Linked DNA regions of Homo sapiens: all the other regions are linked to region 1. Evidence: promoter capture Hi-C in 16 types of primary human blood cells and fetal thymus (Javierre and others, 2016). All regions are on one chromosome and are shown on one strand. The core of a region is centred on a gene start or on the middle of the fragment in contact, and the rest is flanking DNA. Distances in the headings are between cores, read along the strand shown. Region 1 holds the start of VASP (vasodilator stimulated phosphoprotein). Region 2 overlaps FBXO46 (F-box protein 46). Region 3 overlaps QPCTL (glutaminyl-peptide cyclotransferase like). Region 4 holds the start of GIPR (gastric inhibitory polypeptide receptor).

Region 1 (4,124 bases), core at 679-3,178:
GCATGGGCAACAAAGACCCTGTCTCCAACAAACAAACAAACAAAAAACCATGTTTGCTGACTGTTGTTGTAGTGTAGGTGGCACCCAGAAATGCCACCCCTCCTATGTCACAGATGGGAAAGCTGAGACCCAGAGAGGAGAACACAGTTACCCAAGGTCACACTGAACTGGTAACTCATTCAACTAGGTAAGTTTGTTGAGCTGCTGAGCCGGGCGGGCCTGGCTGGGGTGAGTGAGGTCCAGAAATTGATTAAGTCAACTGGGTGCAGTGGCTCATGCCTGTAATCCTAGCACTTTGGGAGACTGAGGCAGGCAGATCACCTGAGGTCATAAGTTTGAGACCAGCCTGGCCAACATGGTGAAATCCCATCTCTACTAAAAATACAAAAATTAGTTGGGCTTGGTGGCCCGTGCCTGTAATCCCAGCTACTTTAGGAGGGTGAGGCAGGAGAATTGCTTGAACCCAGGAGGGGGAGGTTGCAGTAAGCGGGGATCGAGCCAGCGCCCTCCAGCCTGGGTGACAGCGAGAGACTACATCTCAAAAAAAAAAAAAGAAAAAAAGAAATTTAGTCTACCCATTCTCCCAGACAACTCAGCCTGAGGAAACACACTGAGAAACAATGATAACCTCCGAGGAACAGGGTTCAAGGTCTCCCAGAGTGGGGTGGAGAAGGGGAGGGGAATTAATGTCAAAGCTTGGCCTGGAAGGATGACGTGCTCCCCAGGTAAAGGAGGTCAGGACAACATCAACATCCGGACATGGGACTCGGCTTGGACATACGCTGGAAAAGTGGATTCTCTCACATAGTCAGCTGGCCCTGAGAATTGTTGGTTTTACACTCAGACCTTGGTGGCTTTCCGGGTTCTGGGGGCTCAGGCAAGAGGGCCATAGGCCAGATTCATTCCCTGTCTCCAGGCCTCAGTTTACCCGTGTGTAAATGTGGAACTAACTGATTTCCCAGGGCTCGGGCGCCTCACCCGGGCCAGGTGGCGCTCTACCCAAGGGGCGCGACCAAATCAGTGACGTCACTCGGGGCGGGGCCGGCAAGACACGCTGCGGAAGCCTCAGAGGGTGTCTGGGCTCAGCCCGGAGCCGGCGTGTGGGGGCGGGGGCTCCCGGGAGGGTCTCCTCACCTCCGGGCCCTCCTGAGGGCTGGGATGATCCTGCTGTCCTCCGCAGGCGAAACTGAGTCAGAGCGGGGCGTGCGTGGGCCGGAGGCTTTACACACCAAAGAAGCCGGCGCCTCCTGCCCACCCCGGGCGAATGCCGGGCCCCCCACTCCCGCACTCCTCGCCAGTCCCCACCTCCACCCCACCCCACCCCCGACCCTGCGGCTGTGAGTCAGCGACCGACCGCGCCCCCTTGGCCCACTTCCTCCTCACCTTCCCGGGGCGGGCGGGGTGGGGTGAGAGGGGTTGGGCCCTACTCCCCCGACTTCCACTCCCGTGCGGGTGGGGGTCTCGCCCCCTTAGTAACCTCTCCGAAATTGACAGAAGAGAAACGCTGGGGAGGGGCGGTGTTCCGAAGATGGGATTTCAGGGAGAAAATCTGAGACCACTTGCTTAACTTGAGGGTCCTCCTCGACCCCCAAAATTGAGCGGAGTACGAGATGGAGAAGTCGATGGGGAAAGAAATCGCGCCCCTTCCGAGACCCTCCTCAGAATTCCCACAGTGGGAGCGAACTAGGAAGCAAGGGAGGTCCCCTTCCCCTTCACCAACTTGCCCCTCAGGTGGGGGTGATTCCCAGGGTGCACCCCTGGGCTACAACATTGGGGAGAGGAGCGAGATCGCGGAAGCCGAGGGTGCAGAGTTGCCCTTTTAAGCGCCCTCCACCCCCTCGCCTGGAGGCGCACGCGGCCCCTTTAAGGCGCGGGGCATTGTGGGTGCGGGGAGTGGAATTTTGGAACGAAATGTAACGAAGAGAAGTACAGTAGTAAGAGTAACACTGTAGCCGCCACCGGCAAGGGGTGCGCGCTGGGGAGCGGACGCTGCATCCCCTTTCTGCTGCAGGAACCTCTCATCAGACCGCCTGAGGGAAGCGGCGCCCGGAGACCCGCCCCGGCCCGGTCCACATTCTCCCCAGGAAGCCGGACTCTATGGGGCGGGACCCTGGGGGAGCCTGAGCCGAGCCCGGAGCCAGCCCCGAACCCCTGAACCTCCAGCCAGGGGCGCCCCGGGAGCAGCCAGCCCGTGGGCGAGCCGCCCGCCCGCCGAGCAGCCATGAGGTGAGCCGGACCTGCCCCCCGACCCGTCCCCGCCCGGGCGGGCTCCGCGCCCCGCCTTTGTCCCCCTCCCCCCCAGCTAGCTCCGGGCTGGAATTTGGGGACAGATCCTTGGGAGCCTCGGATTTGAGCTGAATCCCCTTGGACGCGCCCCAGAACCGTCGATCACTTCTCCACGACTGACTCCCCAAGCTCGGGGGGTGGTGGCGGTGAGGTTCTCCTGGGAGCCCTCAAGATTTGGGGGCGCTCGGAGGACTCCCGAATTGTTAAGACTTTTTTTAGAGGACCTCAAAGTTGGCAGCGACTCCCCGCAGGGATGCCAGGATTGAGGCAGGGCTCAGACTCTCCTCCCCCTCCCCCCAGACTTCAGCTCGAGGTCCGGGAAGGATTGTGGGGGACCGATTTGGGATACCCTGGGACTTGGAAGAGAGACTGAGACTCAGACCCTGGGTGTGCAGGTCCCCCGTTTACTTGGTGCTGGAAAAAGTCTCCCCAAGTGGGACCGCGCTCCATAACTTCGGGGGTACTTCTTAATCCCCTGGATTTTGGGGGTCACTTAGGTCTTCCTGTGGAGGAGGCTGGTGTGAACCGATCCAGGGACCTGGACGCAGCCTCCAGAGTCTGGTGGGACCCCCCCCTTCCCCGTCGCTCCGCACACAATCTGCTTAACTGGCCGTGCCTAGGACCGAGCGGGCGCTCGGAGCAGAGGGCGGCTCCCCGCCTCCGGCCATAAGGGCGGCCCGGCTCCCCCACCTGCGCGGCCCTGGAGAGGGAGGGGGCGCGGCAGCTGGGGGAAGGGGGCCTTTGTCTTCCTGACTCACCTGTCGAGACAGCTGGTGTGGGGGGCGGGCACCAAGCGCTGTAGGCCGGCTGCCTTCCCCACCACGGCCCCTCCCCCTTTGCTCACCGTCCCCCTATCCACCCGGAGCCTTGGGGTTGGAGGAGGGGGAGCTGGAAAGCTTCAAGGTCATAGCCCTCTTCCCTAGGGACCCAGGCTTCCCAGATAATTCCAGCTATCTTCCCAGGAATTTAATCCTGGGGGTGGCGGCCCAAGGGACCCAGGGATTTGGTCTGGCCGGGGCCTCCCCCGAACTCCTGGGCTCACCTGAGGGCGGGGCCAGTGTGGGCAGGGGGGCCCAACCATCCCCCCTATTCTTCCCTCCCCTGGCCCCCCATAATCTCTCCCATGGGGCCAGAGCCTGACAATACTATCTCCCTTCCTCTACTCTCTCTGGGACTTCCTGCCCCAAAGCCCCCAGCCTGAGCAGGGAGGCCCCTGGGGACGGTTGGGGATTAACCCCGTGGTGCCCACATCCCCCGCATTTCCTGAACCCCTGCCCTTTGACATCGGAGTGGCGTGGCATTCCTTTTTATGACCACTAGAGAATCCCCCTCCCGCGTTTGTTCCTTCTGATGTGAAAGGCATGGCTGGAAAATTTGGAGCAAGGAGGACACCCACAGATACCCTCAAGACTTCCTGCCTATCCGCTCCCCATTATAGCAACATCCCTTCCAAGTCCGCCCTGGAGAGGGGTCAGTTTAGGGAGCGTCGCTCTCTTCCTTCGCCCTCTTCCTCCGGGACTCTTCTCTCCCCTTGCCCCCCAGCCCCGCCCCTCCACCCCCCCTCGCGTTTCCGGTCCCAGGCTCGGTGGAAGGCGGATGGCGGATGTCCGAGTTAGTGCTGCCTCACTCACTGCAACCGTAAAAGGGCAGGAGCGGTGTCTGGGCCGGCCCCCTGTCCTCCCCACCACCACCACCACCACCAGCACCAGCCCTGGAAGCCCTGGCCCTCCCACAAGGCCCACCTCTTGCTGTGGTGGTGGCCAAGCATCCCGTCTTGTGGGGGTGCTGGGGTGGGGTGCGGTGCAGAAATGACCAGATGCCTGTCCCACCAAAAGGCC
Region 2 (4,124 bases), core at 449-2,948, 210 kb after region 1:
CCACCAACTGCAATACATTCCCCCTCTGCAAGGCTCAATTCCTTACTTCATTCAGGTCTGTGTTCAAATGCAGTTTTATTAGAGAGGCCTTCTCCAACTCCCTTCCTGGAAATCACCCACCTGCCCAGAGGGGACCTCTGGGTTCCCTCTTCCCTGCCTACTCTGGGTCATCGTCTGGGGTGGGTCTCTCTCCAGGCCTGAGACAGGATCTTCTAACTCCCCCACACTGAGCCCAGCATAAGGCCCTACACTAGGTCAGCCTTCAGCAACTACTCCATGAAAATCTATTCATTGTAAAACATTGTGAACCAAAAATATGGAAAATCAAAAGACGGCAAAAAACTGGCTGGGAAAACACGAACCAAGAGACAAGTAGAGGAGTAACATTACCCCTTAAAAAAAAAAAAAAAAAAACTTGGCCAGGCACGGTGGCTCACACCTGTAATCCCAGCACTTTGGGAGGCAGAGGGGGGACACAATCCCTTGAGCTCAGGAGTCTGCGACCAGCCTGGGCAACATGGTGAAACCCCATCACTACAAAAAATACACAAATTAGCAGGGTGTGGTGGCACGTGCCTGTAGTCCCAAGTACTCAGGAGGCTGAGGTGGGAGGATTGCTTGAGCCCAGGAGGTAGAGGCTGCAGTGAGCTCAGATCAGGCCACTGCACTCCACTCTGGGTGACAGCACGAGACTGTCTTAAATTAAATTAAAAATAAATTAAATAAATAAAAAATAAATAAACTGACAAAAGCAATGGATGATGACGAAACAAAATGACCAATTATTTACTTCTCTACATGAGTCCCTAGGGCTGGGGGAGGGAGGTGGAAGTGACCCATTATACACAAAAGTTCTCAACATACATGATCCAAATACTATGGCTTCCAAATAGATAAAGCAAAAAACGACCATCTCTACACATGACAGCCATAAACTTACAAATGACAAGGGAAAGTTTGTTAAATCCACAATTGATATGGGAAAACAACATATTTCTAAGAAAAGACTGCTTGGGAAAATTAGTAAGGACCTGAACCACTCAATCTACACCCTTGGTTGAATGCCCCCAACAATTAAATAATCCACATATTTACATCCCTAGCATACATACATACATGGTGCATTTGCAAAAACTTGTCTCTGACATTCACTGTGGTCCTGCATGCTGGCCATTGTTGGGCGCTGGAACACACAGGTGACACTGAGCTCCCCAGGAATGGCTCATGGGAAAGGGGTCAGACATCCAAACAAACAGTCAGAACCAACATGAATATATTAGAAAATGATAATCACAACAGCAGTCAATACTCGAGCACTCTACAAATATGAACTTGTTTGATTCTTCTATCTCCTATTTTTAATTTCGTGTTGAAGATAAGGAAACTGAGGCAGAGAATGGCTAAGTAATTGCCCTCATTTATAGCTTTGTAGCAGAACTCTGTTTTTGTGAGTGTGTGTTTTGTTTTTTGTTGTTTTCTGAGATGGTCTCACTGTCACCCAGGCTGGAGTGCAATCTCGCCTCAACGCAGCCTCAATCTCCTGGGCTCAAGTGATCCTCCCATCTCAGCTGCCTTCTTTTTTGTTTTTTTTTTTAAGACGGAGTCTTGCTCTGTTGCCCAGGCTGGAGTGTAACGGTGCGATCTCGGCTCACTGCAATCACTGCAACCTCTGCCTCCCGGTTCAAGCGATTTGCTTGCCTAAGCCTCCCAAGTAGCTGGGACTACAGGTGTGCGCCACCATGTCCAGATAATTTTTTCATTTTTAGTAGAGATGGAGTTTCACCATGTTGGCCAGACTGGTCTCGAACTCCTGACCTCAGGTGATCCACCCCACCTTGGCCTCCCAAAGTGTTGAGATTACAGGCGTGAGCCACTGCACCTGGCCTAATATTTGTATTTTTAGTAGAGACAGGGTTTCACCATGTTGATCAGGCTGGTCTTGAACTCCTTACCTCAAGTGATCCACCCGCCTCAGCCTCCCAAAGTGCTAGGATTACAGGTGTGAGCCACTGTGCCCAGCCTATCCCAGCCTTTTGAGGAGCTGAAACCACAGGTGTATACCAGCACGCCCAGCTAATTTTTACATTTTTTTGTACTGATGAGGTCTCACTATGTTGCCTAGGCCAGTCTTGAACTCTTGAACTCAAGCAATCCTCCACCTTGGCCTCCCCAAGTGCTGGGACTACAGGCAGGAGCAACCACACCAAGTCAGAACTTAGAATCAAAGATCAGCTGACTCCAGAGCTCAAGGTCTAAACTACAATATAAACATCATCCTGGCTGGGCGCAGTGGCTCACACCTGTAATGTGGTGGCAGGCTCCTGTAATCCCAGCTACTCAGGAGCTTGAGACAGGAGAATCGGAGAATTGCTTGAACCCAGGAGGCGTGGCTGCAATGAGCCGAGATTGCACCACTGCACTCCAGCCTGGGTGACAGAGCAAGACTCTCAGCCAAAAAAAAAAAAAAAAAGAAGTGAAGCGGGGAAAAAAACAACAGAATAAACCAAACAAATAAGGAAAAATAGGCCACGTGTGGTGGCTCGCGCCTGTAATCCCAGCACTTTGGGAAGCCGAGGCAGACAGATCGCTTAAGCCAATGAATTTGAGACCAGCCTGGGCAACATGGCAAAACCCCGTCTCTACTAAAAATACAAAAATTAGCCAGCATGTGCCTGCAGTCACAGCTACTCGGGAGGCTGAAGTGGGAGGATCGCTTGAGCCCGGAAGTGGAGGGTGCAGTGAGCTGAGATTTTGCCACTGCACTCCAGCCTGGGTGCCAAAGCGAGACCCTGGCTCAAAAACACCAAAACAGAAAGAAAGAATGGAAAAATAATGATAAATGGTAAAGCGTAGATGTCTGACCCCACCCCACTTCCCCATCCCCACCCCTAGTCAGATGACCCCGCTCCCCATCACAGGGCCAGGGTCACACCCAGCACAAGGCACTTGCCCAGTTACATGGGAATTGGTGGCAGGACACCAGGGTTTCGTTCCTGGTCCTGTTCCTTTTTTTTTTTTTTTTTTTGACAGGGTCTTGTTCTGTCACCCAGGCTGGAGTGCAGTGGCACGATCTCGGCTCACTCGAACCTCTGCCTCGTGGGTTCAAGCAATTCTCCTGCCTCAGCCTCCCAAGTAGCTGGGACTACAGGCGCCCGCCACCACACCCGGCTAATTATTTATATTTTTAGTAGAGTTTCACCATGTTAGCCAGGATGGTCTCGGTCTCCTGACCTCGTGATCCACCCAAAGTGCTGGGATTATAGGCGTGAGCCACCACGCCCGGCACCACCCCACCCTTTTTTTTTCTTTTTTTGAGATGGAGTCGTGCTGTTGCCCAAGCTGGAGTGCAGTAACACGATCTCGTCTCACTGTAACCTCCACCTCCCCTGCCTCAGCCTCCTGAGTAGCTGGGATTATAGGCACCTGCCACCATGCCCGGCTAATTTTCGTATTTTTAGTAGAGACAGGGTTTCACCATGTTGGCCAGGCTGGTCTTGAACTCCTGATCTCAGATGATCCACCCACTTCCCGTAGTGCTGGGATTACAGGCATGATGCACCGCGCCCGGTCCCTGTTCCTTCTATGCCCTACCCTGCTGCTCCTTTGTCCAGAATCCTGACTCATCCATACCTCACCCATGGCTTGTTGGCCTTAGAGTCCACTGGGTCCCCTCCCTTTTAAGTTTTCCTTTCTGACTAATGGTCCCTGAAGGCAGGAATCATCCAAGCCCTGAGATCCTGGAAGCAGACAGGAACCAGACAGGGCCTGCTGGATCCCAGCTTTCCCACCTCTGGCAGTATGACCTCAGGCAGGTTTTTCAGCCCCATGTGCCTCAGTTTCCCCCACTGTAAAATGGCAATAATGACAGCATCCACCCATGGGCTGGCTGACCATCCGCTGAAACAAACCCAGCAGAGCACCTGGTACCAGTTTGGCACTGAGGCGTAGCTCACACCTGTAATCCCAGCACTTTGGGAGGCCCAGGCAGGCGGATCACAAGGTCAGGAGATCGAGACCATCCTGGCTAACACGGTGAAACCCCGTTTCTACTAAAAATACAAAAAATTAGCTGGGTGTGGTGGCGGGCGCCTGTAGTCCCAGCTACTCAGGAGGCTGAGGCAGGA
Region 3 (4,124 bases), core at 1,103-3,602, 200 kb after region 1:
TCCTCTACCTCCCTAGCCTTTCTAAGGAACTAGAGATTAGTAATAGTGATTACCAGACAGGGGCTCTAAGGTGAGACAGCCGTGGTTTCCAATCTTACCAGCTGGATGAACTTGGACAAGTGGCTTCATTTCTTTGAGCCTCAGTTTCCTATCTGTAAAACGGCCAGTGGGGGCCGGGCCTGGTGGCTCATGCCTGTAATCCCAGCACTTTGGGAGGCCGAGGTGGGCGAATCACAAGGTCAGCAGTTCGAGACCAGCTTGGCCAATATGGTGAAACCCCATCTCTACTAATAATACACAAATTAGCTGGGTGTGGTGGTGGGCGCCTGTACTCCCAGCTACTCAGGAGGCTGAGGCAGGAGAATTGCTTGAACCCGGGAGGCGGAGGTTGCAGTGAGCCGAGATTGTGCTACTGCACTCCAGCCTGGCGACAGAGCAAGACTCTGTCTCAAAAAAAAAAAAAAAAAAAAGGCCGGAGGGCCCAGACATAGTGGCTCATGCCTGTAGTCCCAGAAATTTGAGTGACCAAGGCAGGAAGATCACATGAACCCAGAAGTTTGAGGCCAGCCCGGGCAACACAGGAAGATCCCATTTCTACACACACGCGCACACACACACACACACACAATTACCCAGGCATGGGGGCATGCGCCTGAAGTCCTAGCTATTTGGGAGGCTGAGACTGAAGGATCACTTAGGCCAGCGAGATTAAGGCTGCACTGAGCTGGGATTGTCCCACTGCACTCCAGTGTGGGTGAGAGAGCAAGATCTTTTTTTTTTTTTTTGGAGACAGAATCTTACTCTGTCACCCAGGCTGGAGTGCAGTGGTGCAATCTCAGCTCACTGCAACCTCCACCTCCCAGGTTCAAGCAATTCTCCTGCCTCAGCCTCCCAAGTAGCTGGGATTACAGGCGCCCACCACCACACCCAGCTAATTTTTGTATTTTTAGTAGAGACAGGGTTTCACCATGTTGGCCAAGCTGGTTTCGAACTCCTGACCTCAGGTGATCCACCTGCCTTGGTCTCCCTAAGTGCTGGGATTACAGGCATGAGCCACCACACCAGGCCACAAGATCTTGTCTCAAAAAAAAGAATGTCTATGTCTTAGACTCTGAGGGATTGAATGAGACCAGGAACATAGTGAGCCCACAGGAAGGAGTAACTGGCATTCACTCTTGTTGGGCTGACCAGGGCTTTGTCTCTGGGTGCTCTGCCTTCCTCTGATTTGTGGACTGGGGACCTTCGACTACTAAGGACTAACCCTTCCTCTCTAATCGCCCCCACTTCCAGAGAAGCGTCTGCACCGTTTGAACCTGCTGCAGTCTCATCCCCAGGAAGTGATGTACTTCCAACCCGGGGAGCCCTTTGGCTCTGTGGAAGACGACCACATCCCCTTCCTCCGCAGAGGTACCAGCTGCAGGGAGGGATGGAGGGTGGGTGTCCAAGGAAGCCACAAATTGGAACTGGCCAAGTCCCCTTCCCAGGGCTGGGGAATGGTGCTAAGTGGCCTTAACCTCTTTGTGCTTTGATTTATTCATCTGTAAAATGGGGATAATACTCCCTATCTTAGAGTATTGTTGAGGGGATTGAACATGCTAACACCGGTAAAGACCTTACTTGGACCAGCACCCAGCACATAGCAAGCATTCCAGAAATGTTTGCAGCTGGGCACGGTGGTTCACAGCTGTAATCCCAGCACTTTGGGAGGCTGAGCGGGGTGGCGGGGGGGGATCCTTGAGCCCAGGAGTTTGAAACCAGCCTGGGCAACATGGCATAAATCTTGTCTTTACTAAAAATACAAAAAAATTAGCCGGGCATGGTGGTTCACACCTATAGTCCCAGCTACTCGAGAGGCTGAAGTGGGAGGAGCACTTGGGCCTGGGAAGTCAAGGCTGCAGTAAGCCTTGATTGAGCCACTGCACTCTAGCCTGGACAACAGAGGGTGATGATATCTCAAAAAAAAAAAAAGTGCCAGGCTGGGCATGGTGGCTCACACCTGTAATCCTAGCACGTTGGGAGCCTGAGGCGGGCAGATCACCTGAGGTCAGTAGTTTGAGACCAGCCTGGCCAACATGATGAAACCCCATCTCTACTAAAAATACAAAAATTAGACAGGTGTCGTGGTGCCTGCCTATAATCCCAGCTACCCGGGAGGCTAAGACGGTAGAATCGCTGGAACCTGGGAGGCAGAGGCTGCAGTGAGCCGAGATCACGCCACTGCACTCCAGCCTGGGCGACAGAGTGAGACTCTGTCTCAAAAAAAAAAAAAAAGTGCCAGAACATAGTATCTTTCACCAGTGTGTGGTGGCAAGGCAAGGTTACCTAGAGGTTGGGCTTGGGCTCCTGGGTTGTGGTGGGCTGCAGTGGACCTGACAAAGTCTCCTCTGTCACTTCAGGGGTACCCGTGCTCCATCTCATCTCCACGCCCTTCCCTGCTGTCTGGCACACCCCTGCGGACACCGAGGTCAATCTCCACCCACCCACGGTACACAACTTGTGCCGCATTCTCGCTGTGTTCCTGGCTGAATACCTGGGGCTCTAGCGTGCTTGGCCAATGACTGTGGAGAGGACTGTGAGAGAGAAGGTCCCAGCGGGGGCCAGTGAAGCTCAGGCAGGATCTGCCTAGGGTGTGCTGGTTTGTCCTTTTCATACCTTTGTCTCCTAATTGTGCTACAATTGGAAGACCTTCTTTCTTTTGATTGTCTCAAGCTGCCACCCTTCAAGGACAGGGAAGAGACCACTGTGGGATGACAGCCAGAGGAATAAGAACTTGCTCCCTCCCCAGAGGTAAACACTTGGTCCAAAGGTTTGCAGGGACCAAATACTGTTCTTTTTTTTTTTGAGACGGAGTCTCACTGTGTTGCCCAGGCTGGAGTGCAGTGGTGCGATCTCGGCTCACTGCAAACTCCGCCTCCTGGGTTCACGCCATTCTCCTGCCTCAGCCTCCCAAGTAGCTGGGACTACAGGTGCCCGCCACCACGCTGGCTAATTTTTTGTATTTTTAGTAGAGACGGGGTTTCACCGTGTTAGCCAGGATGGTCTCGATCTCCTGACCTTGTAATCCGCCAGCCTCGGCCTCCCAAAGTGCTGGGATTACAGGTGTGAGCCACCGCACCTGGCAAAATGCTGTTCTTTAAGTCAGCGAACTGAAAAAGTAAAAGACTGCTGGGTGTGGTGGCTCACACCTGTAATCCCAACACTTTGAGAGGCTGAGGGGGAAGGATCACCCGAGGTCAGGAGTTTGAGACCAGCCTGGTCAACATGGCGAAACCCTGTCTCTACTAAAAATACAATAATTAGCTGGGCATGGTGGTGGGCGCCTGTAATCTCAGCTGCTTGGGAGGCTGAGGCAGGAGAATCACTTGTACGCAGGAGGCGGAGGTTGCAGTGAGCCAAGATCACACCACTGCACTCCAGCCTGGGCAACAGAGCGAGACTCCATCTCAATAAATAAATAAATAAATAAATATTTTTTAAAAAGAGTAAAAGACTAAAAGACTATTACTGGTCTGGCCCAGTGATGCCACCCAGCTAGATGAATTCTCTGTGGTTTGTGTTGTGTCAGTTCATTCTCCAGAACAGCAGCCTTGCTACTGCACCAGTCCTAACCTAACTCCCACACGGGGCACACAGAGGATGTCCTCATAACCAGGCACAGAGGAGACAGAAGCTCATATTTTGGAAGTCCAGATTCTTCCAGACCCAGTGGGTAATAAGCCATTGTTTCTGGCTGGGCATGGTGGTTCACACCTGTAATCCCAGCTCTTTGGGAGTCAGAGGCAGAGGGATAGCTTGAGCTCAGGAGTTTGAGACCAGCCTGGGCAACAGAGCATGACCCCATTCTCCAGAAAAAAGAAAGAAAAAAAAAAGCGTAACCAATGTTTCTGCAAAACACCACCTGCATAAGCCAGGTGTGGTGGTGCACACCCTGTAGTCTCAGCTATTCAGGAGGCTGAGGTGAGAGAATCCCATGAACCCAAGAGTTCAAGACCAGCCTGGGCAACACAGTGACACCCTGTCTCAAAACAAACACCACCACCACCAACAACAACAAAAAAGGCCATTCTGTAGAACTCGTGTAAATAGACATTGCATGACAAGGGGGATCTGAAATCCAAGAAGAG
Region 4 (4,124 bases), core at 1,625-4,124, 160 kb after region 1:
CTGCACTCCAGCCTGAGTGACACAGCAAGACTCTGTCTCAAAAAAAAAAAAGAGTCGGGCACAGTGGCTCATGCCTGTGATTCCAGCACTTTGGGAGGCTGAGGCAGGCAGATCACCTGAAGTCAGGAATTTGAGACCAGCCTGGCCAACATAGTGAAACCCCATCTCTTCTAAAAAAAAAAAAAAAAAAAAAAGCCAGCCACAGTGGCTCACGCCTGTAATCCCAGCACTTTGGGAGACTGAGGCGGGAGGATCACGAGGTCAGGAGTTCAAGACCAGCCTGGCCAACATGGTGAAAACTTGTCTCTACTAAAAATACAAAAATTAGCTGGGCATGGTGGCGCGTGCCTGTAATCCCAGCTACCCGGGAGGCTGAGGCAGGATAATTGCTTGAACCAGGACCCGGGAGGTGGAGATTGCAGTGAGCCAAGATCACGCCACTGTACTCCAGCCTGGGCTACAGAGGGAGACTCGGCCAAAAAAAAAAAAAAAATTATTAGCCGGGCATGGTTGCGGGCGCCTGTAATCCCAGCTACTTGGGAGGCTAAGACAGGAGAACTGCTTGAACCTGGGAAGCAGAGGTTCCAGTGAGCTGAGATCGTGCCACTGCACTCCAGCCTGGGCGACAGAGTGAGACTCCATCCCAAGAAAGAAAGAGAGAAAGGGAGAAAGGGAGGAAGGGAGGGGGGAGGGGAGAGGGGAGAGGGGAGAGGAAAAGGAAAGGAAAGTCCTTTGCAGCAACACAGATGCAGCTGGAGGCCAGTATCCTAAGTGAATTAACAAAGGAACAGAAATCCAAACACCAGATGCTCTTACTTATAAGTGGGAGCTGAGCACTGGGTACACATGGACACCAACATGCGAACAACAGACACTGGGGACTCCTAGAGGGGGCAGGGAAGGAGACAAGGGTTAAAAAACTACCCGTTGGGTGCCATGCTCACTACCTGGATGATGGGATCATTTATACCCCCAACCTCCGCATCGTGCAATACACCCCCGTGACAAACCTGCACATGTGCCCCCTGAATCTAAAATAAAAGTTAAGGCCAGGCGCGGTGGTTCATACCTGTAATCCCAGCACTTTGGGAGGCCAAGGCGGGAGGATCACTTGAGGCCAGGAGTTGGAGAACAATATGGCCAACATGGTGAAACCTCATCTCTACTAAAAATATAAAAATCAGCCAGGCGTGGTGGCATACACCTGTAGTCCCAGCTACTCTGGTGGTTGAGGCATGAGAATCGCCTGAACCCAAGAGGCAGAGGTTGCCAAGTTGGCGCCACTGCACTCCAGCCTGGGTGACAGAGTGAGACCCTGTCTAGAAAAAATAATAAATAAAATGAATTAAAATAAATGAATAAATAAATAAATAAAAGTTGAGGCTGGGTGTGATGGCACATCCCTGTAGTCCCAGCACTTTGGGAGGCCGAGGCAGGAGGATTGCTTGAGGCCAAGAGTTGGAGACCAGCATGGCCAACATGGTGAAACCCCATCTCTACTAAAAATACAAAAATTTTAGCTGGGTGTGGTGGCACACACCTGTAGTCCCAGCTACTCGGGAGGCTGAGGCAGGAGAATCTCCTGAACCCTGGAGGCGGAGGTTGAAGTGAGCCAAGATGGCGCCACTGCACTCCATCCTGGGTGACAGAGTGAGACCCTGTCTCAAAAAAAAAAAAGTTGAAATTATTTTTTAATAAAATGGTGGGGCATGGTGGCTCATGCCCATAGTCCCAGCTAGTCAAGAGGCTGAGTTAAGAGGATCCCTTGAGCCCAGGAAGTGGAGGCTGCAGTGAGCTATAATTGTTCCAGTGCACTCCACTCTCATAAATAAATAAATAAATAAAATGTAAAAAGGATTGTATGGGCCGGGTGTGGTGGCTGTCGCCTGTAATCCCACCACTTTGGAAGGCCAAGACATGTGGAACACCTGAGGTCAGGAGTTTGAGACCAGCCTGGGCAACATGGTGAAACACCGTCTCTACTAAAAATACAAAAATTAGTCGGTTGTGGTGGTGTGTGCCTGGAATCCCAGCTACTTGGGAGGCTGCGGTGGGAGAATTGCTTGAACCCAGGAGGCGGAGGTTGCAGTGAGCTGAGATCATGCTTCTGTACTCCAGCCTCAGCAACAGAGGAAGACTCTGTCTCAAAAAAAAAAAATTCTATGTCTGCGAGTAACCACACAACTGCATACTGCGTATATTTATTTCATGACAATCCTTCCTTGAACCCCTGCTCTTAACGATTTTGGGGACCCAGTGGTGACCCAGATGTCCTGGCTCTACCCTCCTGGGCCACACAGGCTAGCAGGGCAACAGTGTTTGTGATGAAACCCGGTGATTGCGTGAATGTGTGGGTGATTGACAGTGTTGTTGGAACTGTGAGACACTGTGAGCGTTACTGTGTGTGTGCAGGAGTCCATAGCCCTGGGTACATGACTGTGTGTCACAGTGGATGACTGTCCACCTGTGAGTGAGAGACTGTGGCTGTCTGGGTGTGACCATGGGACTGTATGGGTGTGACTGAATGTGTGACTGTGTGAGTAACAGCTTGTGAGGTTCTGTGACTGTGCCTTTCCATGGCTCAGCCTATGGGATTGTGTGTGACACTGCATGTTTGATTGAGTGACTGAGGCTCTGGGAATGAGTGGCGGTGGGGGCGGGTACCTGTGGGTGGGACAGCATGAGAGATTGTACACACTTGGTGCAGGGGTCCTCAGGACGATAAGGACAATTCAGTAACTGCCCTCCCTCATGACCTTGATGACTGCCCCCTGCTCGGCTCTCTGCCCCAGAGCTCCCCGCTTCCGTTCCCTGTCCCGCCTTGGCCCCGCCCCCTCCCATCACCCCGGGCTGCCAGCGCCTGTCACCTCTCCCAGAGCCGAGACAAGGCAGTTGGAGGCAGCGGTGGCAGGGGCTGCAGGAGCAAGTGACCAGGAGCAGGACTGGGGACAGGTGAGGGCTCCCCAATCCCAGCCCATTCTCCCTGCCCCCCCTTGACCTCTCAAGTCTCTGGCACTCTCCCTCTCTGCTTCTCTGCCCTGCCTTTGTCTCTCTGTCTCTGTGCCCACCACCATCTCTGCTCATCTCTGTCTCTTGATGTCTCTGTCTGCGTGTTTCCATCTCTGGTTAGCTGCTAGATAACTTCTCTTTCCCCTGCTCTGTCTCCCTCCACGTCTCTGCCTCTTCTTTGTCTCCTAGCCCACATCTGCGTCTCTTTCTCTGTTTGTTTTTCTCTGGTCTCTGGCTGGGGGTCTCATTCTGTCCCTCCGTCTCTGCGCCTCTCAGTCTTTACATTTCTGTCTCTTGTGTCTGTGACGCCGTTGTCTGTCCTTCTGAGGCTCGACCTGAGATCCTCTCTGCTTCCGTCTTTCTCTACGTGGAGCCGCGGGGGCGCGGGTGAGTGGGTGTCGGGCGTTAGACCGATTTCCAGGCATCTGCACATCTAACCCCGGATCTGTCGCTTCTCTAGTCCCTAAGTATTTGGATGCTGGGAAAGGGTTGTTCCACTTACTCTGGGCTTTATCTACCCCCAGCGGGGAAAGTTTTGTAAGGTCAGGTTCCTATGTGTGCTAGAAAACCCTTTGGGCTTGGAGAGTGGGAGCTCGGATGGGCGTTTCAAGTTCTCCACCAGGCTGTGGGAACTCAGATGGGCGTTTCAAGTACCCCACTAGGGGGTACTGAAAACCTTCAAGTTTTTCAGTTCCCCATAGAAAAGGGGTCTAGGCTGACGGTTTCTACCCCCTCCTCTCCAAGGCGGTCCCCGGGTTCCCAGGAGTCTGTAGGTCCAGACTTCGGTGACACTGACACTTCCGCCCAGCGTAGCTCTAGGGCAACCGCCCGCTCAGCAAACACCCCCCCCTTCCACCTTTGCTGCCCCAACAACAGTCAGGGGAGGCCGGGGAATCACTTAAGGGGCCCCGCCCACCACCGGAGTTCCACCCACTCCGCGTGCCTCTCCCTCCCCCCAGATCATCACGCCTGGGAGTTGCGGGAGCGGGTGCGCTGCCTCGGAGTCCCGCGTGTATACGGCTCCCCAGCCGTCTGCCCCTGTGTGTGAATCCCTGAGGCGGGGTGACGCTGGGGTTGGAGTAGGAGGGCAGAGGTGCTGACCTTGCCCTGGGACC

What was found. Contacts are between HindIII fragments. The CHiCAGO score rates a contact against its expected background, and 5 or more counts as called.
Region 2: a fragment that was not itself captured here is called in contact with the fragment with the promoter of VASP in region 1 in 7 of 17 cell types (naive CD4 T cells, naive CD8 T cells, non-activated CD4 T cells and 4 more); the score reaches 6.8 in naive CD4 T cells.
Region 3: a contact is called between a fragment that was not itself captured here and the fragment with the promoter of VASP in region 1, in 1 of 17 cell types (total CD8 T cells). The highest score is 5.6, in total CD8 T cells.
Region 4: the fragment with the promoter of GIPR here is called in contact with the fragment with the promoter of VASP in region 1 in 12 of 17 cell types (naive CD4 T cells, endothelial precursors, activated CD4 T cells and 9 more); the score reaches 11.9 in naive CD4 T cells.

Annotation. Positions count from the first base shown.
Region 1 is chr19:45,505,551-45,509,674 of GRCh38, forward strand. It overlaps VASP (vasodilator stimulated phosphoprotein), which reads left to right and starts at 1,929. Exons shown (of 13, transcript NM_003370.4): 1 at 1,929-2,226. The coding sequence starts at 2,222. It overlaps LOC107985314 (a long non-coding RNA gene), which reads right to left and starts at 1,824. Exons shown (of 2, transcript XR_007067269.1): 1 at 1,135-1,824. RefSeq lists silencers at 990-1,239, 1,270-1,399, 2,080-2,259, 2,854-3,053, 3,864-3,993 and enhancers at 1,594-2,378, 1,660-1,929. The HindIII fragment of the contact is 2,487 bases long and covers 694-3,180 here.
Region 2 is chr19:45,718,548-45,722,671 of GRCh38, forward strand. All of the region lies in intron 1 of FBXO46 (F-box protein 46), which reads right to left. Among named protein-coding and RNA genes, the nearest start is that of FBXO46, 10 kb to the right of the region's middle. RefSeq lists an enhancer at 2,103-2,603 and silencers at 3,484-3,778, 3,524-3,818. The HindIII fragment of the contact is 7,644 bases long and covers 1-4,124 here.
Region 3 is chr19:45,700,508-45,704,631 of GRCh38, forward strand. It overlaps QPCTL (glutaminyl-peptide cyclotransferase like), which reads left to right. Exons shown (of 7, transcript NM_017659.4): 6 at 1,291-1,407; 7 at 2,397-3,480. The coding sequence ends at 2,542. Among named protein-coding and RNA genes, the nearest start is that of QPCTL, 9.9 kb to the left of the region's middle. The HindIII fragment of the contact is 9,587 bases long and covers 1-4,124 here.
Region 4 is chr19:45,665,347-45,669,470 of GRCh38, forward strand. It overlaps GIPR (gastric inhibitory polypeptide receptor), which reads left to right and starts at 2,875. Exons shown (of 14, transcript NM_000164.4): 1 at 2,875-2,952. RefSeq lists a silencer at 2,760-2,919 and an enhancer at 3,300-3,579. The HindIII fragment of the contact is 25,981 bases long and covers 1-4,124 here.